Linked DNA regions of Homo sapiens: all the other regions are linked to region 1. The links are contacts of gene promoters, found by promoter capture Hi-C in blood cells and fetal thymus (Javierre and others, 2016). All regions are on one chromosome and are shown on one strand. The core of a region is centred on a gene start or on the middle of the fragment in contact, and the rest is flanking DNA. Distances in the headings are between cores, read along the strand shown. Region 1 holds the start of SLC9B1 (solute carrier family 9 member B1). Region 2 overlaps MANBA (mannosidase beta). Region 3 overlaps MANBA (mannosidase beta). Region 4 overlaps MANBA (mannosidase beta). Region 5 overlaps MANBA (mannosidase beta). Region 6 overlaps MANBA (mannosidase beta). Region 7 overlaps MANBA (mannosidase beta).

What was found. Contacts are between HindIII fragments. The CHiCAGO score rates a contact against its expected background, and 5 or more counts as called.
Region 2: a fragment that was not itself captured here is called in contact with the fragment with the promoter of SLC9B1 in region 1 in 17 of 17 cell types (M2 macrophages, M1 macrophages, M0 macrophages and 14 more); the score reaches 14.3 in M2 macrophages.
Region 3: a fragment that was not itself captured here is called in contact with the fragment with the promoter of SLC9B1 in region 1 in 16 of 17 cell types (M2 macrophages, M1 macrophages, neutrophils and 13 more); the score reaches 27.7 in M2 macrophages.
Region 4: a contact is called between a fragment that was not itself captured here and the fragment with the promoter of SLC9B1 in region 1, in 15 of 17 cell types (M1 macrophages, M2 macrophages, M0 macrophages and 12 more). The highest score is 19.3, in M1 macrophages.
Region 5: a contact is called between a fragment that was not itself captured here and the fragment with the promoter of SLC9B1 in region 1, in 10 of 17 cell types (M2 macrophages, M1 macrophages, monocytes and 7 more). The highest score is 10.8, in M2 macrophages.
Region 6: a fragment that was not itself captured here is called in contact with the fragment with the promoter of SLC9B1 in region 1 in 8 of 17 cell types (naive B cells, M2 macrophages, total B cells and 5 more); the score reaches 9.3 in naive B cells.
Region 7: a contact is called between a fragment that was not itself captured here and the fragment with the promoter of SLC9B1 in region 1, in 14 of 17 cell types (M2 macrophages, total B cells, naive B cells and 11 more). The highest score is 11.2, in M2 macrophages.

The regions. Positions count from the first base shown.
Region 1 is chr4:103,018,046-103,021,591 of GRCh38, reverse strand. It overlaps SLC9B1 (solute carrier family 9 member B1), which reads left to right and starts at 1,887. Exons shown (of 12, transcript NM_139173.4): 1 at 1,887-1,993. It also overlaps a transcript of SLC9B2 not described here. RefSeq lists an enhancer at 1,546-2,046. The HindIII fragment of the contact is 6,332 bases long and covers 1,252-3,546 here.
Region 2 is chr4:102,649,014-102,652,559 of GRCh38, reverse strand. MANBA (mannosidase beta) reads left to right here. Exons shown (of 17, transcript NM_005908.4): 13 at 1,859-2,023. Among named protein-coding and RNA genes, the nearest start is that of MANBA, 110 kb to the left of the region's middle. The HindIII fragment of the contact is 1,776 bases long and covers 935-2,710 here.
Region 3 is chr4:102,665,498-102,669,043 of GRCh38, reverse strand. It overlaps MANBA (mannosidase beta), which reads left to right. Exons shown (of 17, transcript NM_005908.4): 10 at 1-81. Among named protein-coding and RNA genes, the nearest start is that of MANBA, 94 kb to the left of the region's middle. The HindIII fragment of the contact is 2,188 bases long and covers 684-2,871 here.
Region 4 is chr4:102,684,086-102,687,631 of GRCh38, reverse strand. The region is part of intron 7 of MANBA (mannosidase beta); the gene reads left to right. Among named protein-coding and RNA genes, the nearest start is that of MANBA, 75 kb to the left of the region's middle. The HindIII fragment of the contact is 1,675 bases long and covers 702-2,376 here.
Region 5 is chr4:102,701,528-102,705,073 of GRCh38, reverse strand. The region is part of intron 5 of MANBA (mannosidase beta); the gene reads left to right. Among named protein-coding and RNA genes, the nearest start is that of MANBA, 58 kb to the left of the region's middle. The HindIII fragment of the contact is 2,952 bases long and covers 504-3,455 here.
Region 6 is chr4:102,730,144-102,733,689 of GRCh38, reverse strand. The region is part of intron 1 of MANBA (mannosidase beta); the gene reads left to right. It also overlaps the pseudogene LRRC37A15P and the pseudogene KRT8P46. Among named protein-coding and RNA genes, the nearest start is that of MANBA, 29 kb to the left of the region's middle. RefSeq lists an enhancer at 3,214-3,546. The HindIII fragment of the contact is 8,823 bases long and covers 1-3,546 here.
Region 7 is chr4:102,749,292-102,752,837 of GRCh38, reverse strand. The region is part of intron 1 of MANBA (mannosidase beta); the gene reads left to right. It also overlaps the pseudogene WDR12P1. Among named protein-coding and RNA genes, the nearest start is that of MANBA, 9.9 kb to the left of the region's middle. The HindIII fragment of the contact is 2,002 bases long and covers 584-2,585 here.

The DNA.
Region 1 (3,546 bases), core at 638-3,137:
AAAGCTTTTGCTTTCCATGACTTTGTTGCAAATATAATCAATTTACTTATTTTTAAAACTTAATTTTTATAAGAAAGGTTATCAGATGATTGTTTAAATGTTTTTTATTAGTAAATTTTCATTATATTGTCTCCCAAAGAACCACTGTATTTTTTTAATGTCTCAGAACATTATATTTTTATATGAATCATTTATGTACCTCTCTGTAACAAGTGGGAATTGCTTCATGGCATTTGGGGAGTACGTAATATTATATTTATAGTTGACTGACTCAAATCCAGCCTGAGCCCTCTGGCCTGGTGAGAATTCCAAAACTCCATTTGTTGATGTGCGCTCCATCTTCCTTACATGGACCCTAAAGCACTTACCTCTCCAGGAGCCCATTCCTTCTAGAGCATAAGAGTAGTGCCTTGGAGGCAAACAGACTCCTAGCAAAGGTCTTCCTTCCCAGGTTTACCATTTGTCCCAACTCCCATTATCTTTAGGGATCTACCTGCTTTTCCTGTGAGTACAAAACATTTCCTTTTCATGAGTACAAAACATTTCCTTAACCCTATAATCATGAAACCCTGTCTACTCTCCTGAAACGAGGAAGAAAAATAAATCCTTGCTGAGATGTCTATAACACGTTGAAGGAGGGAAGGTGTTAAAAACAATAAAAAGGGCAGGGCTGTGGTGGCTCACGCTTGTAATCCCAGTACTGTGGGAAGCCAAGACGGGCAGATCACTTAAGTCCAGGAGTTCAAGTCCTCCTGGGCAATATGTGAAACTCCTCTCTACTAAAAATACAAAAATTAGCCGGGGGTAGTGGTGCCCACCTGTAGTCCCAGCTACTCAGGAGGCAGGAGGATCGCTTGAACCAAGGAGGAGGAGGCTGCAGGGAGCCTAGATCGCACTGCACTCCAGCCGGGGTAATAGAGTGAGACCCTGTCTCAACAACGTCAACAAAACCAATAAAAAGATAATTTCGTATTTAAGTTACCCAAGAAGGAACGGTAATTTGGATCAGATCTTAGATGATGACTAAGAAAAAGAACACTCCGGTAGAGGAATTAACTTTACAGAACGCACTGAGGCAAAAAGGAATACAGTGTTCAAGAGTAAACATTGAGTGTCAGGAGAAACATTAGATAGGAAAGGGCAGTTTGTCTTTCTAAGAAGTTTACACTTTCTCCAATAACAGTTGTTTTTGTCTTTTATAGGAAGCGCGGATTCTATTACTGGAAACTTTGGGACTGAAAGGCCAAAGCTTCTGGGCCCACCATCAACGCAGCTCCGCTTTCATTTCTTTCACATACAACTTTCCACATAAGATTTCATGCGGAAAAAAAAAAAAAACTCACAAAGGTTTTATACTGATAACAGTATATTAAGTGTTTACTTTGTACACAGCGTCTTTGTTCCAGACACTTGCCATGTCTCATTTATTCTCACACCACCACCACAGCGTCCTTTACAGATGAGAAGACAACCTCAGGGAGACGATGTATTTGCCTAGGTCCCATAGCTAGCAAGTGACAGCGCTGCAGTTTAAGCTCAGGCCGTCTTGGGGAGAGACCGTGCTCTTCTACCATTGCACTTTAAGCTGACTTTAGGGGAAACACAATCTGAGTTTTGACAAGTTTACTTCTGGCACATGCAGTCCCGAGCACTGCTTTTTGGCTAAAATGCCCAGTGATGTCAACTCTGTCCCTGGATTTCTACAACCCGATGAGTCAATATTCAGAAGAGACGTCGAAAGGAAAGGGTTCAATAGACAGAAAACACACCAGACAGTCCCAGAAACCCCAGAACCCTCGCCTCTGCCGGCGCGGACAGCCAAGACGTCACTTAAACGCGCTGCCGCCTCCTCGCCCCGCCCCGCCCCTGCGCGGAAGTCTATCCGGGCTTTCGCGTCACCACCCTGCCCACCTGGGTGGCGCGTGGCTTACGCAACGGTCACTGGGCTCCTGGGCCGCTCCCGGGCCAGCGAGGGCTGCGAAAGAAGTTGTAGGTACGGCCCATTTTTCTTAACGCCGCCCTTCCAAGCCCTTTGGCGCTAGTCCCGGGTCTGCCGCGATCGTTTCCTTGCGGTAGGCCGCAGGAGGGCCTTTCCTCCCCCTCAGTTCAATGGGATTCTTGGGCTCTTCTCCCAGACGCTGAGGGAACAGCCACAGACATTGTCTCTCCTCTCCGTGACTCCTTTCCTTACTCCGTCATCCCACATCTCTCTTGTTTGTTCTCTTTTCCTCCTGTTTTTCTTATTTTACAAATACTCGCCAGTAAGAAAGAAGAGATCTGTCAGTTAAGATTGACCTCAAAATTAATTTTATTAAGCGTGTACTATTTTACAAACGGTGGATCCCTGCAAATAAACCTTCACATACATGCTCCTGCGACTGGAGATTCTGGGATTGGTTGCCGATCCTGAGAAAGCTCTCTTCCCCCACCCACCCACATCCACGCCCCTTAATCCTGTTTACTCCTCTTGGCTTTAACCCAGGGGACAAGCACTTCCAGCAGTCCCCAACCTTTTTGGCACCAGGGATCAGTTTCATGGAAGACAGTTTGGGGTGGGGGGCAAGATGGGATGACACTCTTCTATCTCAGATCATCAGGCATTAGATTCTCTTGAGAAGGCGCAATTTAGATCCCTCACATGCGCAGTTCATAATCAGGTCTGTGCTCCTATGAGAATCTAATGCCTTTGCTCATCTGACAGGAGCTGGAGCTCAGGCATAATCCTCTAGCCCTGCTCACCTGCTGTGTGGCCTGTTCCTAATAGGCCACAAACCTGTACCTGTCTGCTGCCCAGGGGTTGGGGATCCCTGCTTTAGACCAGTGCTTTTGAAGGAAAAAGGAAAGTTGCACACATACTGTGTCTGTCACATCAATCAGTAGTGTTACAAGAGCTCTTCACGGGACCATACCAGGTCCCTCACTCCCCCTCTATGGGTGTCCTAGAGCCTGTGAAATAACAGATTTGGTGATGTGGGGAGACAACTGGCCCAGGTGGCACTGAGGGAGGCCACACCCCACTCTCTGATTTTCCTTAGAGATAAATATAATTATGTGTGCAACAGAAGCATGAAAAATGACACTTATTATTGTCACCCCTAGAGAATTCATGCCCCAAATATTTTAGTCACTGTGTGCCTATGAAAAGGGCATTCATAGGTATTGTCCCCTGTGAGTACCAGAATTTTTTTTAACTTACTTTTTAAAATTCTATACAGATTTAGTTAGTACAAGTTCAGTTTTGTTGTGTGGATATATTGCACAGTGGTGAAGTCTGGGCTTTTAGAGTACCAGAATTTATACTGCTGTTTTTCAGTTGGCTCTTGTCATAAGGTCCTGCCAATTACTAGACACAAGGAAATAGGTGGGTGCTATAGTTGTAACATATAAAGTATCGTTTTTATAGTACTTCTCATTTTGTACTTATTTTTGTACTCATCCTGTTTAAACACTTCTGTTGGTTAACCAAATCCCATGTTACTGTGGTGTTTACTAAACACTGAGATTGAATAGTACCTGGAACATAGTGTAATATATGTTCAATAAATA
Region 2 (3,546 bases), core at 573-3,072, 370 kb after region 1:
TAATATTCTTAAAGTAATTAGAACTTTGCCTGGCCATTTCCAGTTCTTTCTGGTAATATTATTATAGCTGAAATTTGAAAGATTTTCACACCATAGTTATGAGAAGGTAGAAAGCCTCCCACGTAACTAAAGATCAGGTTTACTGATTATGGGATAGATTCAAATTATTACAAATAAGAAGGCTGCATGGCCCAAAGGTATATTTCAGACTTTGAAAAGGAGGAAGGACACTCCAATGTGAAAGCTAAAAAAGTTCAGCTCAAAGAAGTAGAGTGGAATAATGATTACTAGAGGGTGGAAGGGTTGCCAGGGAGGGACAATAGAGTTGGTTAATTGATACAAAAGTATAGCTAGATGGGAAGAATAAGTTCTGGTGTTCTATAGCACTTTGGGGTAACTATAGTTAATAATAATTTATTGTATATTTTCAAATAGCTAGAAGAGATAATTTTGAGTGTTCCCGACACAAAGAAATGATAAATGTTTGAGGTGATGAATTTGCTTATTAGCCTGATTTGATCCTTATACATTGTATACATGTATCAAATTATAACATGGTACCCCATAAATGTGTACACTTATTGTGTCAATTAAAAATAATAAACATAAATAAAATAAATTAAGAGGAGGAAGCGTAGGAAGACTATTGATAAAGGATGTGTGTCTAAAAAGTGTGCGAGATGATTGTCAATGTGAATCTCTCCTTTAAATACATAATAGGAGTAGTTAGCATTATTTAATTCTGGTGGTGGCATTTTGGAAAAACATCTGTAATTAGGAAAAACTTCCAAATTTAATATGGCTAGTGTACATTTCTTATATTTGGGTATGAATCAGTTCCTGAAGGATAACCTTTTCCTTTTAAGGTAATGGGCCCATGTGTTGCTTGATTACTGGGAATGAAAAGTCATACTTTATGAACAGGGATTAAGCTTTTTTAATTTTCAGGTTTTTGGGTGGAGGGGCAGAGTATGTTTTTTCAAAGTCTGTGTAACTTGAATTAAAACTCTGGATATTTTCAGATGTAGCCAGCAATTGTCTTCTTTCTTAAATGCTAACAGTGCATTAAATTATAGGCCTAGAAGCCAGAATTATTGCTTTTTTCTCTTTTTTTGTAGAAGGTATACTCCAACATATGTGAGTTTTTTTTACTTTGTTTTTTAATTTGAGCTGACGACAAAAGAAAGATCCTGTAAGTTAGGGGATAAAATAAAGATCCTATAATTTGGGCCTGGCTTAAACCATAAAAAATTGATTTTTTAGGGGAGAGAAGTAACATTATTTGGTTTGTGTCTTCAACTATATAAAAATTAAACATATGTATATCAGTTTCATTTAGTAATCACTGAGAAACAAGTGAACAGTGTAAGTGCTAAAGCATCTACTCTCATAGTATCCCTATTATAGTGTAATAGGTGTTTTATTCCTATTTAAGAATTGTGACAGTTTTAACAGTGTTGATTGCATTCTATTAAGTTTTGACAAACGAATACTAGATAAAATGTTTACCTAAGTAGATAAAATGATATTTAAAAATACATATAGTGGATGTTTCAAAAACCAGGAATATGTTTTGATAAAACAAGAGTCTTAAGAGAAACATCAAAATATAACTTTCTTAGTTGGAGGAAGGGAGGATATATGTACCAAACCCTGGTTTTGTGATTCCAGTTTCCACAAGGCTAGTCCTTCACTGGCAACAAGTAGGATGGTAAAACATTTATGAAACTGGAGCCACAGAACAAACCTCAAGGTCTTCTCTAGTGTTTAGGATACTTTCCAGGTTTGTCAGGAACTTATAGAAAAGTAGTTTTACTGCCAACTTTCAGATTTCTAATTCTTATTCTTTATTTGAAAGGTCTCGTCTACAGAGGACTGGTCTTTCAATAGCAAGTTTTCACTTCATCGACAACATCACGAAGGTGGTAACAAACAAATGCTTTATCAGGCTGGACTTCATTTCAAACTCCCCCAAAGCACAGATCCATTACGCACATTTAAAGATACCATCTACCTTACTCAGGTAAGTTGTTTTCATTCTAGAATTGAACAGGTTCCTGCAATTAATGTAAGAGATTATGTAGATTTTGTAGGCCATATATGGTGAAAAATATTCAGGTTTTCATTCCACTGGTTAAGGAATTTATTTTCTTCAAAGAACATATATGATGACACATAGGACATGAAATAGTTCATTTTTGGCATTTGCCTCTCTTACAAAAACAGCTCACAAAATTCTGAAATAAATTGTGTATGAAAATATTCTCTACTTCAAGATTGCTCTAAAGGTTTAGTAATTAAGACAGTGCCATTTCCCAAGGATAAAATAGAACAATGGAACACAATAGAGTCCAGAAACAGATCACTGTATAATATGGACACCTGATTTATGGCTGTGATGCCACCACAATTGAGTATGAGAACAATCATTTTATCAATAAACAGTGGTGAATCACGTGGATACCTTTATGGGAAAAGAAATGAACTTGACTCCATATACAAGTTAATTTGATTGTTGAGCATGGTGGCACACACCTGTAGTCCCAACTACTTGGGAGGCTGAGGTGGGAGGATTGATTGAGCCTAGGAGTTTGAGACCAGCCTGGGCAAAATGTCAAGAACCCTATCTCTAAAAAATAATAATAAATTTTAGAAACTTCATTTGACCAATGACTGAAGACTCAAATGTGAAAGGTACTACAATAAAGCTTCGAGAAAACATGGAATAGCTTCATGATTTTGGGATAGGTGAGAGTTTTTATATAGAACATAAAAAGCACTAACTAGAAAAGAAAGTATTGATAAATTATACTCCATTGAAATTATGGACACCATTAAGTATAAAAAACACCATTAAGAGAGAGAAAAGGCAAGCCACAAATTGGGGACCAATAGTTTTAATTCATATATTTGATAAAAAGATTTGTATCCAGAATAAAGCAATAAGAAAAAGTCAGACAATCTATTTAAAAATGGACAAAAATCTTGAACTGGAGCTTCACTAAAGAAGATATCCAAAGCGTCAATAAATATCTGAAAATGTGCCCAATCTTGTTGTAAATCAAGAACATGCAAATTAAAGCCATACCAGTATACCCCTACACACCCAGCAGAATGGCTAAAATTAAAAAGATTGATAATAACAACTGCTGGTGAGGAAGCGAGACAGCTGGAAATTTTAGACATTGTTAGTAGGAGTTTAAATTTGTTTAACCACTTTGGAAAATTTTATGGCAGTTTCTACCTAAGCTAAATGTTTGCTTCCCTTTTGAATCAGCATTTCTGCTCCTAGCTATGCACTAGGAAAAATGAGTTCATATGTCCACCAATGGATATCTCAAATAATGTTCATAGCAGCATTATTCACAATAGCCCCAAAGTAGAAACAACCTAAATGTCTTTTAACAGGAGAATTTATAAACAAATTGTAGTATATTCATACAGTGGAATACTCCACAGCAATAAAAAAAGAATAAACTACTGATAATCAGCATCAGCTTGGATGAGTCTTGCAGGTATTACATTGAGTAAAAGAAACCAGACATA
Region 3 (3,546 bases), core at 528-3,027, 350 kb after region 1:
CAGGATTTTATGTTTGCCTGTGCCCTTTATCCAACTGATCAGGGCTTCCTGGATTCAGTGACAGCAGAAGTTGCCTACCAGGTATGTTACTACCCTTCCAAGAAGAAATAAAACAAATAATATGTTTTAGTATTGCCTTTTGTTAAATCTTGCTTCATTTTGGTTTTTGTTCTCTACTAAATCCCATGAAAAATTACACAGCCAGGTAATTGACATCCTAGGTGATTGTACCCAGTGTCATGGCTTTACCATCATCTATTGGCTGATGACTCCCAGATTTATCCCCAGTCCTGATTTCTCTGCTGAATTCCTCTTTCTTATATCCAACTGCCTACCTGGTGCCTCTGCTTGGAGGTTTAACAGGCATCTGAAATGTAACATGTACAAACTAAACTTATATTGCACCCCCTCCCCAATCTTGCTTCTTCTGAAGTTTTCTCCATCTCAGCAAACAGCAACACCACTGTTTGAATTGCTCAGGAGAAAGTTTAAATTGATTATTGATTCCTTGATTTATTTTAGATTCCACATATTGACATTTATATTTATATTCACAGATATATAAATGCAAGGAAGTGATTATATGCTTTCTCTGCCTACTGAAAAGATCTAGAAATAATGCCCAACGTTGTAGTGTTGAGTATTCTTATATTGAAGTAATCTTTCCTGTTAAGAGAAAAGCTTCTTAGAGAAATGGCCGACTCCAGGTCTGGCACAGGAAATATATAAAATGATCCTGGATATCTTCTTTTCACAAATGGCAATGGTGTTAATATAATATTATCAACTGATAATTTTAGCCACAGATCTGAGGTTTATGAGCTGTGTGCTGAATATACTTATTTTTGCAGCAAGGTCTGTTTAGGGGATGATCATGCTTTGAAACACAGATTGCATTATATTTCCTCTCCCCTAAATATTAAGTGCATGGCATGGGTTTCCATGTAGAATCAGAGTGGGATGCTTGTCAATACATGAAAATTCTGAATTATGATGTACTCCCAAAATACAGTTTAGAAACCAACTTGTGAGTGTATCATATGCTAGTAAAATACTACTGAAACATCGGACTGATTCATTAGCATCCATTGGAAATGATCACTGCACCAGGAGATCACCCCTACCTTGTAAAGAGTTTGCAAGACTGTGGAGACATATTGAGTTTTTATAGTGCTCTGCAACATGTTAAAGAAGGAAACAAATCCATTTTCTCGGTAACCTCAGGTAAAGCTACAATGTGGATAATTATTGACTCTGATTTCAATTTCTCATGTCCAACTGTCTGCCAGATTTTTTGTAATGTTGATATACAAAGAACAAATATTTTGATATTTCTTCTTGAATGGTGAGTCTGCAACCTTAGGGAGGTCACTTTACCTCTTGAGCCTCAATTTCTGTATCTATAACTCTAGTATGATGTCACTCCTCATGAAACTGTTTCAAAAATTAAATAGGATAATACGTGTAAGTCATGCAGTTCAAAAGAAATAACAAATAATAGCAGCTGTCACACTAACTCAGCGTGTCTTCAAAGTACATCTATTATCTTTTCCCCAGTGCACTCTTTCAAGATTTTTCTTTTTAGCAGGAAATATGAAAGTCATTGATACTTTCTTCTTTCTCACCTCCCACATCCATCTGGTTTTAAGTTGAGACAATTTTTTGATATCAATGTTACTAGTATTTGTATTTACTTTCTCACCCCCGTGCTTACTACTCTAATTCAAATCCTATTTTTCCCTCTCCTCAATCATTGCATTTGTTTTCTGATTGGACTCCCTAGCATTGGTCTCTTTCAATATGTGCATACTCAACAGAGCTGCCAAAGTCATCTTCCACTGACACATTTTAAGTCATACCACATTCCTGCTCAGAACCCTGATCCTGGAATATCTCAACATGCAGATAACAAGGAAGCTATCAAAGTTATGTCAAAAGGATTTTGAGAGACTCTGAACAACCAAAAGGGGGACAATTTGAGATTCAATAAAGATAAGGATGTCAATGAATTGAATCCATCAAGTGTGTTAAAATCTAGAGTTCATATTATAGTGTCTGCAGATGTATATTTTGTGAAAAACCATACAGAAATGCAAGGAAGCGATTTCTATTACACTATGATACTCTAGATAGTGGTTACTTTTGGAAGGAGGAAGGGGCTGTGATTAGGAAGAGGCACGTGGATGGCTTCCGGCCTGGCTGCACTGGGTGGTGGCTACAAGGGTGATTGCCTTATGATAATTGACCGTGTCATAATTTGTTTTCTGTAACTGTGTTTCATTTTAAAATAAAAGGTTTAAAAAGTACAATCGAACTCCTTCCCTAGCCAACACTTCCCCTGAGGTGGCTTCTTGACCTCTGGGTAAGGTGTAAGATCCTCTTAATGCGGGACTCCGGCCAGCTGGTGTCTGCACCTGTTCAGGCACCATCTCCATCTTGCTGTCTATGTCCTGGAACATCTTCCCCATCCACTGCCCTTGTGAGCCACCTCCTTTGTTCTCCTTTGGCCCCTCTTACCTTAAGCATGGGAAAAATCTTTTGCCTTTTGAGACACACATCACACTTTGAATTACTTGTTCAAGGATTTGTCACCTCTGCAAGATTGTCATCTCCCTGAGGCCTAGGACTCATTCCCCTCTGCGTCCCCACTCTGTGGATTATTCACAAAGTGGATAGATGAATGGATGAATGAATAACTGTAAACATATTAATTGTAGTTACACAGGTTGCAAGCATTTCAGTTTTATTTTTAGTTTTCTTTCGTATAAATAATTAAAATCTAACATTTATGTATCTTCAGTTCTTTGATGCATTATTAAAGATAAGGAGAGCCATTGCATGCAAAGTTTGTTAAAATTTTAAAGTAAAGCTTACCATAAAACTCTAAGTCAGCTTGAGGGTTGTGTGTAACACGGTGCTACTGAAGCTTTTTGCCACTTCAGGATTTATATTTGTATTTTCATCAGTGGCATAAATATGTCAGTCACAGTTGGTAGCAGCTGTCCCTTTCTTGGGCATGTACAAAGACAAAAAAAGGAAATAGTGTTTATATGGCTGGCTGAGAAAAACACAAGACTTAATTTTTTTAAAAATGAAATATATCTCTTTAATATACCTTCAGTGCATCTCTATTTCATCTATGTGAGTTTCTGAGCTTCTTGAATGGAGAACACATTGAGAGCATCAGTGGGGGGCAATCAGTGTAATCATGCATCACAGCGAAGGTGAACCTATAAATATCAATGAGGTAACATTGCCAAAACATGTTCCAAAAGAATTTTTCTTGACCATTGACTCACTCTGCCATTCTCAGAGGAATTTAATTGCTCTCTACTGGGGCACATGTCCTAGTGTATTAGAAGAAGGGACATGTCTGAATCTGTCCAGTGCAAACATAACACAAGTGGATCCTTTTGTCTTTATGTAGGGCCAGCCCAGATGAGCTCAGTTTATGCAGGCCTCGTGTGGCACGGTTTTCAGGTAGATTCTCTAATTTTCCCTTTTATATTTAGGTACATTCAGTAACTTAATGTTAGTTGATTTCTC
Region 4 (3,546 bases), core at 290-2,789, 330 kb after region 1:
CTGAGGGATAAGTAGAATTTGGCCAAGTAATGTAGCAAAGAGGCGGAGGGAAAAGAACGTGAAGGCCCAAGGACTAGAAAGGATGTTGTGTGTTTGCAGAAGTGAAAGAAATTTCAATGCAGTTGTGGTTGAGTTTGAAGTTGAAGAACAAGAGATGGTGTTGTAAAAGTAGCTAGGACAAAGTCCTGCAGGGCCTAGTGAGCCACGTGAAGGAAGAAGCACTGTCCTGAGTGCTGCCAGGATTCTTGGAAGGATTTTAAGGAGGGGGTAAGGATTATATGCATATTTTACAAAGATTGTGTAGATCAGATTGGAAGGATGGCAAGAGTAGGGGACCAGTTAGAAGACTGTGGTGGTGATTCAGACAAAAAATGAGGATTGGTTGGTCTACAGAACTGCTGAGGAAATAAATCTGAAAGAGATTTAGGATATAACCTCAGCAGGCTTGATGATGTGGGGGTGGGAAAAAAGAAGGAGTTAGGAATGGTTCCTCAGCTGCTGGTTTGGGCTGCTGAACAGGCAGCCTCTGAACAGGCAGGGCAACTCTGTTCATTGAGTTACATTACTCAGAAAGAAGAGAAGGTTTGGGGGAAGGGGTTGGGTGGAAATTATTTCAGTGTTAGATGTGTTTTGTGTGGGGTGATTGAGAGACACCCAAGGAATAATATTTGATAGGTGTTTCATTAGATAGATCTTAAGCTTAGGGATTGCATGTGGGTTAAGGATATAGATGTGTAAGTTAGCAGAATGTAGATAATTGTAGCCATGGTAGCGGATGAAATACCTCAGGGATGGCACAGAGAAAAGAGCTAGGACAGAACCCCAGGCAGTCATAATTAGTAAGGTTGGGGTTTGGGGAGAAGCCAGTAGAAGAATCTAAGAAGGAATGGTTGACGAGGTGGAGGGAAAACCAATTTGAGTGGGGAGTCACAGAAACCAGAGGGAAAGAGTGTTTTAAGAAGCAAAGAATGTTCAGAGTGTTGAATGCTGCAAGGGAGTTCAAGTTAGAAAAGAATTGAGAAAGATTCTTTAGATTTGGTGGCAAGGAGATTACTGGTCACCTTGATCAGCATGGAAATCAAATTGTAGTGGGTTGAGGAATGACTCAAGGTATGGAAGTAAAGACGGTGAATATAGGCAACTCTTCTGAAAGCGTCTGATTGGAAACTATGCTTAGACCAGGTGGTAATGGTGGCCAGTTGGGATCAGATTGGCTTCACATAGGCAACTGAACAAATAAGTAAATATATTGAAGTGGTGGAAGCCAGCCTTTTCATGAATGGAGAAAGGTGGTATCAACATAGAAGGGGGGAAAGCTACAGTGGATTCAAATTGGAGCTAATAGTATGAAGTTATGATTTTCAGTATGTGTAGACAGAGAAATAAATGTCTTTGTAAATGCATGTGTATGTGTGGGTAGACACACACACACACACACACATTTCCTAGTTCTTTTCACACATTTCCTAATCCTTTCTCAGAGCGCCTGGGAAGAGTGGCTCTCTAGTAGCAGTGAGTAGATTTAGGACCCATATGTTGATTTGGAATACCACTCTGTGCTGAAAGCAATCAGGGCTCTTTGGAGAAATGACTGATTCTCGAGCTGGAGCCTGAAATATCTTGCTGTTCCAGGAAGTAAGGAGGTACTCAATAATAATGTGACACATTGAAAGGACACAAGGGCCTTCAGTCTTCAGTCTTCAGTCTTCAATCTACTATAATCTTCAAAAATGTCAAGGAAAGATTGAGGAACTGTCCTACAGTGGAAGAGACTATGTACGAACTGGGTGCAGTGCAGTGATCTTTTTTGTCATAATGTTATTGGGGCAACTGATGAAAACTTGAATGGGGGGGTCTCTGGATTCTTTGTATTATATATAGGAGTTCTTTGTATTATTGTTGGAACTTTATTACAAGTTTGCAATGATTTCAACATAGAAAAGGATACCATTAAGAGAATGGAAAGCAACAGCAAAATCCTGATGGAAAGGGGCCAGTAGCGAGGGAAAGACTAAAAAGAGTTAGAAAGCAGGGAGGTAGTTGAGAGGGCAAGGTCTCTGGGAGGTAGGAGATAAGAAGAGGATGGATTCACTTTGGGATGGGGGGCTCTGTTTTCGTTGTAATAGTGGTGAAAGATAACACATGGGAGGAAAGGATGCAGCTTGAGGATGGAGGTAATTTTGAAGGTCTCTAGGACCATTTAAAGTATATTTTCTTTCTATAAGACTGGCAAACACTTTTGTCAGTGGAGTTTTAGGGTGAAAAAGTAAGCCTGAGAAAGAAAGCTAGGGAGTTTTGGTCAAACAACATTTTATTTTTTATTTATTGTGAAATATGACACATACAGAAAAATACACAAGCCATAAGTGAAAAGCTTAATGAATTATGAGAAAATGAACACTCAGGTAACTGTCAACATGTTCAAGAAACAGAACATTAATTACTAGCACTTCACACCTCAAACTCTCCCCTCCCTTCTGCGAGCCTCCCCAGTAATGACCCCTGTTTCCTTCCCGAAGATCCACTATCCTGACATCCATCACTAGGTTACTTTTGTCTCTTTTTGAATTTTATGTACATGGAACCATATAGCATGTATTTTTTAGTGTGTGGCTAATTTGGCTCAGCATTATGTTTTTGACATTTAGGTACAGTAGTGCCTCCTTATCTGTGGTTTCAGTTACCCATGGTCAACTGTGGTCTGAAAATAGTAAATGGAAAACTCCAGAAATAAGCAATTCATGAGTTTTAAATTGCTCACTGTTCTGTGTAGCATGATGGCATCTCGTGCTGTCCTGCCCTGTCTTGTCCAGGACATGAATCATCGCTTTGTTGAGCATATCCTTGCTGTATACATTATCCACCTGTTAGTCACTCAGCAGCCTTCTCCTTTATCAGACAGAAAAAGTCATAGTATATATGGGGTTCGGTACTATCTGCAGTTTCAGGCACCTACTGGGGGTCTTGGAGCGTATCCCCTGCAGATAAGGGGGGACTGCTGTTTATTGTTCTGTGTAACTGTAAGTTTGTCTATTTAAGTTGTATAAAATTTTATTATACTACACATTTTGCTGTTGCAATTTGAGTAGTTGCCAGTTTTGGCTATTCCAAGTAATGCTGCTGTGAACATTACTGATATAACACTCGGAGCACATATGCCCCCAACGGCATGTCTGCTGGGAGTGGAATGGCATGATTATGGAGGATGCATGAGTTCAGCTTTGTAGATTATGCTAAACTGCCATCCAAAGTGGTTATATGAGACTTGCCTAGGCTCCTCATGCTCGCCAGCACTTGGTACTGTGTCAGACAGGACATTGAACACTGTTTTCTCATCACCAGCCCCTCCTTATTTCACCTCTATTGCTCTTGTTTATTGTTACCCTGGGCTTGCTTTATGCAAAAATAATTCTGTTTTAAATATACCTCATTGAAATCCATCTTGCTTCAGTTTTATATCTTTGTTTCATGCCTCTCCTCTTCCACTGAGCTTAGAAACGTGTTTAGGATTTTTTTTTTTTTTAACTGAGTATATCAGGAGACAGC
Region 5 (3,546 bases), core at 730-3,229, 320 kb after region 1:
TTCTCTGTTGAATTTCAGTGTTTTTTGATAGGTGATCTATCTGAAGGGGTTCTTCTTTGTGGAGGTGGCAAATACCAGATGCCGCTAGTCAGCCATCTTGAAGCTCCTCCCTCATTTTTGAAATATTATGACAGTAATATATTTTGTACTTAACATAGAGAAATATATGTTTCCTGTTAAGAAGATGTGCTTTGTGCATGTTAAGCAGTAATTCCTATATTTCTAATTAATTTTATAGTTATCAATTTGGTTGTTTGATGTAATAAAATTAGAGTGTAAGCTCATGAGAGCATTAAAAGAGTTCTACCTTTAGGAGTTTCTCCAGAATTTTTTTTTTCAATTTTTATCTGGAAGACAGCAGTTATCACTGATATCAATAGACGTTTAAACATTGAAAAATAATAAAAGAATAAGCTAATGTGGTCTGGATACTTTTATGTATTTATTTGGTATATACTATGAGGCAGGCACTGTGAGAGTTACTGAAAATTTTTAAAAAAGCTTAGTTCATAATAAAAAAAGGTACATATAATTTTTATTTAAAATAAAATGTATTCATTTTTAAAATTTAAGTGTGAAATGAGGTGGGTCAAAACTAATGCAAGGCTGGGCGTGGTGGCTCATGCTTGTAATCTTTAGCGCTTTGGGAGACCAAGTTCAAAGGATCACTTGAGGCCAGAAGTTTGAACCAGCCTGAGCAGACATTGTCTCTACAAAAAATAAAAAAAATTAGCCATGTGTGGTGGTATATGCCTGTAGTCCCAAGTATTCGGAGGCTGAGGTGGGATTATAACCGCCCAATAAATTCACCTTGCCTGCTGCCTAGACAGAGCTGATTTATCAAGACAGGGGAATTGCAACGGAGAAAGAGTAATTCAGGCAGAGCTGGCTGTGTGAGAAACCAGAGTTTTATTATTACTCAAATCAGTCTCCCCAGACGTTCAGCATTTGGGATCAAATTTTTTGGTTTTTTTTTTTCGAGATAGAGTTTTGCTCTGTTACCCAGGCTGGAGTGCAGTGGCGCGATCTTGGCTCACTGCAACCTCCACCTCCCAGGTTCAAGTGATTCTCCTGCCTTAGCCTCCCGAGTAGCTGGTACTACAGGTGTTCGACACCACGCCTGGCTTATTTTTTGTATTTTTGGTAGAGATGGGGTTTCACTGTGTTAGTGGGGATGGTCTTGATCTCCTGACCTTGTGATCCACCCGCCTCAGCCTCCCAGAGTGCTGGGATTACAGGCGTGAGCCACCATGCTGGGTGGGATCAGAGTTTTTAAAGATAATCTGGTGGGTAGGGGCTTGCAAAGTGGGGAGTGCTGATTGATCAGGTTGGAGATGGAATCATAGGGGGAACGAAGTAAGGTTTTCTTGCTGTCTTCTTTCCTGAGTGGGATGGCAGAACTGGTTGAGCCAGATTACCAGTCTGGGTGGTGTCAGCTGATCCATCCAGTGCAGGGTCTGCAGAATATCTCAAGCACTGATCTAGGTTTTACAATAGTGATGTTATCCCCAGGAGCAATTTGGGGAGGTTCAGACTCTTGGAGCCAGAGGTTGCATGACCCCTAAACTGTAATTTCTAATCTTGTAGCTAATTTGTTAGTCCTGCAAAGGCAGACTCGTCCCCAGGCAAGAAGGGGTCTTTTCGGGAAAGGGCTGCTATCCATTTTGTTTCAGAGTCAAACCATGAACTGAATTCCTTCCCAAAGTTAGTTCAGCCTACTGCCAGGAATGAATAAGAACAGCTTAAATGTTACAAGCAAGATGGAGTAGATTAGGTCTGATTTCTTTCATTGTCATAATTTCCTCAGTTATAACTTTGCAAAGGCAGTTTCAGGAGGATTACTTGAGCCTGGGAGGTCAAGGCTGCAGCGAGCTATGATTATTCCACTGTATTCTGGCCTGGGTGACAAAGCAAGACCCTGTCTCAAAAACAAACAAACAAGTAAACAAACAACAACTAATGCAAACAGTAGCTATCTCTGTAGTAGTGTTAAAAATGGTTTGCATTTTATTCTTCTGTGTAACTGTCTTTTCTAAATTTCTATATTGGGCATCTGTTATATATATGTATATGCAGTAAGTGGATAAAGTAGTTATTAAAACAAACTAATTTAGTCTAGTAACTTCAGCTAACTTGATATGAAAGCCTAAACTAATTTGTCTATGGGACACTTTCTGCCTTCCCCCTGTTGAGGCTAGAAAGAGATACTGTCATCTTTGTGCTTTTTCAAGTGTTCAATTTATATCTTGACTTAAAATTAGTGAGTTTACTCCTGAAGATCAAAGGACCAACCATAGTTCCCTAACTTGTGTATGACAGAAAGAAGGCTATTAAACATTTAAAAATTAACGTGAAATTCTTGTGAATTCATTTACTTATATATATGTATATATCTATGTTTCTTTTCTGTATTCTTAGTCCTTAAAAATAGTGGTTTCTACAGGGTCTGGAGTGGACCTCTAGCAAACTCCAACAGACCTGCAGCTGAGGGTCCTGTCTGTTAGAAGGAAAACTAACAAACAGAAAGGACATCCACACCAAAAACCCATCTGTACATCACCATCATCAAAGACCAAAAGTAGATAAAACCGCAAAGATTGGGAAAAAACAGAGCAGAAAAACTGGAAACTCTAAAAAGCAGAGCACCTCTCCTCCTCCAAAGGAACGCAGCTCCTCACCAGTAATGGAACAAAGCTGGACGGAGAATGACTTTGACAAGTTGAGAGAAGAAGGCTTCAGGCGATCAAACTACGAGCTACAGGAGGAAATTCAAACCAAAGGCAAAGAAGTTAAAAACTTTGAAAAGAATTTAGACGAATGTATAACTAGAATAACCAATACAGAGAAGTGCTTAAAGGAGCTGATGGAGCTGAAAACCAAGGCTCGAGAACTACGTGAAGAATGCAGAAGCCTCAGGAGCCGATGCGATCAACTGGAAGAAAGGGTATCAGTGATGGAAGATGAAATGAATGAAATGAAGCGAGAAGGGAAGTTTAGAGAAAAAAGAATAAAAAGAAACGAACAAAGCCTCCAAGAAATATGGGACTATGTGAAAAGACCAAATCTACGTCTGACTGGTGTACCTGAAAGTGACGGGGAGAATGGAACCAAGTTGGAAAACACTCTGCAGGATATTATCCAGGAGAACTTTGCCAATCTAGCAAGGCAGGCCAACATTCAGATTCAGGAAATACAGAGAACGCCACAAAGATACTCCTCGAGAAGAGCAACTCCAAGACACATAATTGTCAGATTCACCAAAGTTGAAATGAAGGAAAAAATGTTAAGGGCAGCCAGAGAGAAAGGTCAGGTTACCCACAAAGGGAAGCCCATCAGACTAACAGCGGATCTCTCAGCAGAAACTCTACAAGCCAGAAGAGAGTGGGGGCCAATATTCAACATTCTTAAAGAAAAGAATTTTCAACCCAGAATTTCATATCCAGCCAAACTAAGCTTCATAAGTGTAGGAGAAATAAAATCCTTTACAGACAAGCAAATGCTGAGAGATTTTGTCACCACCAGGCCTGCCCTAAAAGAGCTCCTGAA
Region 6 (3,546 bases), core at 441-2,940, 290 kb after region 1:
TTTCTAGAAAGGGTAAAAGCAGAGAGAACCGGCCAGTGTGGTGGCTTACGCCTGTAATCTCAGCATTTTGGGAGGCCAAGGTAGGAGGATTGCTAGAGCTAAGGATTTTGAGACCAGCCTTGGCAACATAGTAAGATCTCCATCTCTACAAAAAAATAAAAATAAAAAATTAGCTGGGAGTGGTGGCATACATCTGTAGCCCCAGCTCCTCAGGAGGCTGAGCTGGGAGGGTTGCTTGAGCCCCGGAGGTTGAGGCTGTAGTGAACCATGGTTGTGCCACTGCACTCCAGCCTGGGTGACAGAGCAGAGCAAGACCTGTTTCAAAAAAAAAAAAAAAAAATGCAGAGAGGACTTCCTTACTCAGGTGAACAGGAATCTCAAGTTTTCAGGAAAAACTGCCCTGTTTGTGGATCTACCTCCTTCGTTAAAGTTTCAGTTTGATTAAGTGGTACTTAGCATGAGTGACTGTTTTGGTTTGATCTGGTCTGCTGAGGCCTAGTATAGGAGCTCAGTCAACAACGGCCTCCTGTAATTTTTATTTAACATCCAGAATGACATATAGTTGAAATCATACATTATTTAGGTTTTTCAGATTGGCCTCTTTAAGATAAAATTTTAACCTATAAATTATGTTTGTGTCGAAAAAATATATCTGGGAAGATTGCCCTCTTGAACCAACTTGCAGATTCCTTCAGGGAGCTGGGAGAAAGGAAGGGGACTTGTGCCCCGTCAACCAGATCATCAGCCAGCCCCCGGGCTTAGTGTGTTGATGTGTTGTGGCTGAATTGCTCTCACACCTTCCTTCTCATGATATTTTTAACTGTATTGGACTAAGTCCACAGTGTAGAGTTATAAATAGGTCTTGGGGGAATGACATGGTCATGCTAATAATTAGGTGCCTCTTCAACCCTGTGTCTGTAAATATGTGTTCCATGTTTGTTCATTGGAGAGGCCGAGTCCTGTGTGGGAGATAAGTTGGCTGGGCTTGGCACACGGCATTTAACAGAACAAAACCTTACCATTAACCAGACCTTAAAAGCCAGTTTGGTGATTACGTGTTGTTTTAAATCTCATCAGTCACTCTCTCCTCTAGTAGCTTATCAAAATATTTCTTCCAGTTTGGATCAGTTTCTGGCAGATACCTATCTTGATCTTGATACACTCCCACTGATGTTGTAGTGCTTCTTACAGATTTGCCCTGGGCAACTGCCTAACTGGCCATTGCCAGCCTAACGTGTTCATCTGGCTCTTACCTGTGTGGAACTTAGACAGAGTTGGCTTTTCCTTCTTGACTTGGAGTTACGGTCCCTAAGGAAATAACTTGGATCTGTCCCTGACAAAGGAGGGGAAGCCCCTCCATGCCTGCACAATTCCCTTCTATATATTGTTCATGGATAGATGAACTGAAAAGATTTGTTTGCCACTTTCTGTTCTGCCTCCTGTCTTGAGTATTCCTCTGGGAGATAAAGAGTGGAAAGAGTCCAGATGCGGTGGCTCATGTCTGTAATCCCAGCACTTTGGGAGGCTGAGACAGGCAGATCACCTGAGGTCAGGAGTTCGAGACCAGCCTGACCAACATGGTGAAAACCCATGTCTACTAAAAACACACAAAAAATTAGCCAGGTGTGGTGGTGCATGCCTGTAATCCCAGCTACTTGGGAAGCTGAGGCAGGAGAATCGCTTGAACCTGGGAGGCTGAAGTTGCAGTGAGCTGGGATTGCGCCATTACACTCCAGCCTGGGCAACAAGAGTGAAACTCCATCTCAAAAAAAAAAAGTGTAAAAAGAGTGGAAAGGGGGTAGGAGAAGAAAGACTTAAGGATTTATGAAGAGGCAGACTTGGGTCTAGACACTCAGATGGAGCAACATCTATGAACATCTAGGAGGCCAGTCATCTTGGGCAGGGGTTAGCAAACACGTTCAGTAAATAGCTAAATACTAAATATTTTAGACCTCGAGGGCCAGATGGTCTCCATCATGTCTACTCAACTCTGCCACTATAGCACCAAAGCAGCCATATGTAAATTGCAAAGGAAAGGGCATGGCTGTGCTCTAGTAAAACTTTATTTATGGGCACATGTCCATTCTTACTTAGCTTGCTAGCCACACAGAGACATGTAGTGAGCTGAATGTGGCCTGTGGGTGGCAGTTTGCTGACCTGAGGTAGGATAATATAAGAAACCTGATGTTAATAAGTTTTGAAGTATCTCTGCTGCCTGTGTATTCTCTGTAGAGATCCTTTTCATGCTCACTTAGCTAAGTGAAAAATAACTGGAAATGCTAAGTGAATCCAATGAGCGGAAGGGAGTTGTGCTGACTTTTGGGCAGTAGAGAAGTATTCCCCCTGGAGGCTGGCTGGGATAGTGGCGCAAACAGCACAGTGAGAACCACAGGGCAATGAGAGACTGCTGGCTACACACCACAGATTCAGTCTTTCATTCTCTGCTGATACTGGTGGTTTTGTGTTTGGTTTTAAAAGGGGAAGCCAATCTTTTTTTTTTTTTTAATTCTTTCAGCAAGGCAATTTACTTCTGCAGAAGGGTGCCACTTGCGTCAATCAAGATCGCAAGAGCACAGAGAACAAAGGAGACCAGGGGGTTTTTATCCTCAACGCAGTCCCTATCTCTGTGCTACTCCCCCTTGGGCTGGGGTTGGACTGCACAGTTTGAGCTGACCCAATTGGCTACTTGTACATATTTTTTTAAATATAGAAGGGGAGGGGGACAGAGGTGGAGCGTGTGAGATGTGCAGTTTCAGGGGAACATGGGGTGCAGGTAACCAAGGGAACAGATGTGAGTTATTGATTAGAGCTGACGGGAAGCGGGTAGGCTGTTTATGGTAACTAGGCGCAAGGAAGAACAAGATAGTTGAGTTTGAGGACAAAGTATAAGGAAATTAACAAGCTAAACCCTATAAGAGAAACTCAGAAAGACTTATTGTGTCTTACCTGACAGTTGAAGAAGCATCTATCTGTAGGGAATCCAGAAGGAGCGTTCATGAAGGTATTACAAGCCCGGAAGAAGCACACGAGCACTGAGCTGACTACTGAGCTGGAGGCGGCCTCAGACAGCAATGGCATCAACTTGTCAGGCTTTGGGAGTGAGCAGCTAGACATCAATGACGCACTAAATTACGTCTTGCCTTATTTCTCATAGAAAAATCTATAAGATGTAGAATCAATGTTGTTACTGTTAGGGACGAGCTGCCCCAGGAACCGCCCCCGCAGTGCAGCTGACCCTTACCCCGAATACTCTGCAGCTGCATTCCTGAACCCTTATCTAGGTGCCACAGCAAGGTTGCCGACTTGCTACACTAAGCAAACCCTGCTTACAGCCCTCCAGGTGGCACAGGGAAGGTCATGAGAAATGTGGATAAATCTAAGTTATACCCTCTTGTAAATTCCTCCGGTCATGAGACGATATGTGGTAAAGTTAACTGAAAAGACCAAGAAGCAGCTTCTCCACTCCTTCTGGGATCTCTATCTGGTTCGGCCTTCCTGCCCCCACTCCTGCCTCCACCATGTCCATCAGGGTGACCCAGAAGTCCT
Region 7 (3,546 bases), core at 335-2,834, 270 kb after region 1:
TCTTTTTATTTTATAAACACAAACTATTATAAATACAAAATAAGAAAAAGATAGTTAAATGTTAGCTGTTATGAAGAGTGAAAACATTATATAAATTTCAAACGGCTGCTTTCTGCATCTGCATCAGTATAATTTCATGATTTTCTACCAAGTTCATTTGTATAAAGAATCTCTATGATCAATTTATCATTCACTTTCATGCCCCCACATGGAAAGTGGTAGGTGAATATCTGTAGGAATACAATTTATTGTCTGCTTGTCCACTGAAAAGTAGCCCTGTGTCCCTATCCAGTCTACACTCAGAACTTTGTCTTCATGAGCAGCCAGATCATACAACTTCTTGTATCCCACAACTTGACAATGTTATCTAAAGATCCTGAAATCAGTTGCTGTTCATGGGTAGGAGACCATTTTACTAATGTCACGCAACCTGTATTTGAAGTTAGGGACAGTGACACCAAAGAATGGTCTTTAGTTCGGGGATCCCACAGTCTGGTATGCCTATCTGTGCTTCCAGATGCTAAACGTTTACAAAGTTGGAGAATGGGAAATACAATTAAGCACTTTATTTCCTGTCAAAGCTTGCCTTCAGACTGTCAGACTCAACATCCTACACTCTAATTGTATGGTCCCAAGATGCACTGCAGATTTCTTCAGCATCTGACCACAGAACTGAGGAAATTGCTTCCTTGTGACCAGAGAGGGTCACTATGGGAGTCATAGCTGCTCTGTGTTCTCTGTCGATTTGTGGATTCCTCCATTTCATCTTCTTCTTCTGTAGGGACTGTAGACCAGATCTTTAGCATCTTATCCCAGGAGCCACTACAAAATTTAGTTCCTGAGCTATCAACAGCTATAGACTCTGCACTTCCAGCATGACCTCTGCAGCACGGTCGGGCTTTCACTTTGTTTCTCTCTATTCCACTCCCATAAGAGAATAGTTGGATCCATAGAGGCACTCACAAATAAGCAAGACAAACTATCTTTTTTTTTGGCCCAGGCCACATCTTTTAAGACATCCCTATGTCCAACAATTGTCATTATTGACTTTCTTTCCAAGGACCGGATTTGAGAGGTCTTATCATAAGAACCAGTCAAGATCCATTCCTTTGCCCCTTTAACTGAAAGGATCCAGTCATCATGGAACATGCATTGCTCTGGCTGGGGTGCTGTGTACTTCACATATTCTATTTCCACAACTACTTCTGATGACATGTTCTCCAGTTCCATGTGTTTGACCAAGGACATTCGCAGAAACTGGCCCTTAATAAGGAAATAAAACTCCATATGTTTGTGGAACTCATTTTTGTCCTTTAGTAATTTATTGATGATGTTACTAAGGTCAGCAAATTCAGAGGCGGCAGGGATTGAGAAGGAAACATCATTTACAGCATATTTCTTGTTATCGGTGTAGAAATGTGTTTGGAGCTGAGCCAAGGCAAGGAGTACACACAAGACTTTTGGGTTAGTAGAGAGAGAATGGGAGCTCCTGTCTCTTAACTACAAAGAGGCCGCTCAAAATTAGACTGCACAGGTAAGCGAGAAGCTGCAGTCTAAGCCTGGACTCTGCTTTTCCTCCTTGGGTCTGCTCCACCCACAATCATTCTTTCTAAGGAGCCATGAGTCTGTCTATGGAGTCTCCAATCTGCAGGTTATCACTCATAAGTACATTCTAACAATATATGTGCATCAGTGTACATTCTACTTTTGTATTCTTTAAGTAGCAAATAAGCAGTTTCTATGTGAATTTTGTTAAACTTTGGGTGAATTTCAAACAAATAGTAAAATAGAGATACTTGCAAAATGAAATTTCATGTATCCATCACCTGGCTTCAACATGATCAATTCGTGGCTAATTTTGTTTCTTCTCTATCCACTATGCCATCCCTTATTATTTTGTTTTGTTATCATTTTTTTTGTTTTTTGAGATAGGGTATTACTCTGTCACCCAGGCTGAAGTGCAGTGGCGTGGTCATGGCTCACTGCAGGCTTAACCTCCTGGACTCAAGCTATCCTCCCACCTCAGCCTCCCAAGTAGCTAGGACTACAGGTACACACCACCATACCCAGCTAATTTGTTTCTTTTTTGTAGAGACAGAGTCTCCCTATGTTGCACAGGCTGGTCTCAAACTCCCAGGCTCAAGCGATATTCCCACCTCGGCCTCCCAAAGTGTAGGGATTACAGGTGTGAACCGCTGCTCCTGGCGCCCTTAGTATTATAAAGTAATCCCAGTTATCACATTATTTCATCCACAAACATTTCAGTATGGGTCTTTAAAAGATAGGGAGTTCCTTTTTCTTCAACATAACCACAGAACCATTATGACTTGTGAAATATTTTTGATGTGTTTCAGAGAAGAGAGTCCCATTATTATAATCCAAAATGACTAAACATACATTTTTTCTCAAAACAGAAGGTTTTCTGGTTGTTATACTAACCTTCCACAGAGATCTTAAGACTTGTAAGGATGAAATATTTGTTTGAATACTGAGAATGATAAAAAATGTTTTTTAAATAAAAAAAAAACTAAGGAAATATTTGGCTTTACGTGATCATTTTATGATGTGAAATGATCTCAAAAGCTTTTTAGGAAATGACCCTTTAAAGATATGTATGTCTTCTTCTAAAAGTTTGACTGACTTAAAGTAAAATTAAAAAAAAAAGTTTGACTGCTTCTATCAGGTGTGACATTAAGGAGATAAAATAGCTAATGACTCTGCATTTGAAATTTAATTTAAACAGAAATAGTCATCAATTAATAATGTTGCTCAATTTCTGGGAAGAGAGAAGTCCAAGGTTTTTAAGCCCTCATTTAAAAAAAACAGATAGTTTAAAAAATCCTGATCCTTAAACCTGGACATATACTTTCTTGTTTGATGCCACATGAGGTGTATTTAGGGTATGGGAGGATTTGCTTTGCGTGGCCCCGAACTGAAAATCAAAGGACCACCTGAGAGCTAAATTTTTAGGTAAGCGTTGGCTGGTCCTTATCATGTATAAGTATTAATGCATGTAGTCAGCCTATACAATTCATTTTCATGTAACATTTATTTTATGTCTTCCACGTGTGATGCACTTTTCTTGGCCCTTTCATGTGCACTTGTTCATATAATTTCAGCAACAACCCTCTGGAAAAGGTATAATAATTCACAGTGACTGAGGCTCAGCAAAGTTATTGCCTAAGATGATGCATATAATGGATGGTGGAGCAAGGATTCAAACCCCGATGTTCTTTTCACCATTGCACGCTGCCTATTGGCAGAAACAGTAAATAGTAAACAAATGGAACAGTTATTTTAATTTAAATGTGTCTGATGAAAATAGAGACATGAGTACAATATACTTTTGTTCAAAATATGCCACTAAAAGCACCCCATTTGCTAAAAGCTCTCAAAAAATGTAAACATTTTCTCAGGGTTAATTCATATATCACTTCTTTCTGTATTCTCCGTCTCTTGGAATTCTCTTTGTTTCAGCCATCACTTCTGTGCCACAATTGCTGAAATGCTTGTGTCTAACCACCACATCTCACTTGATTTCCAGCT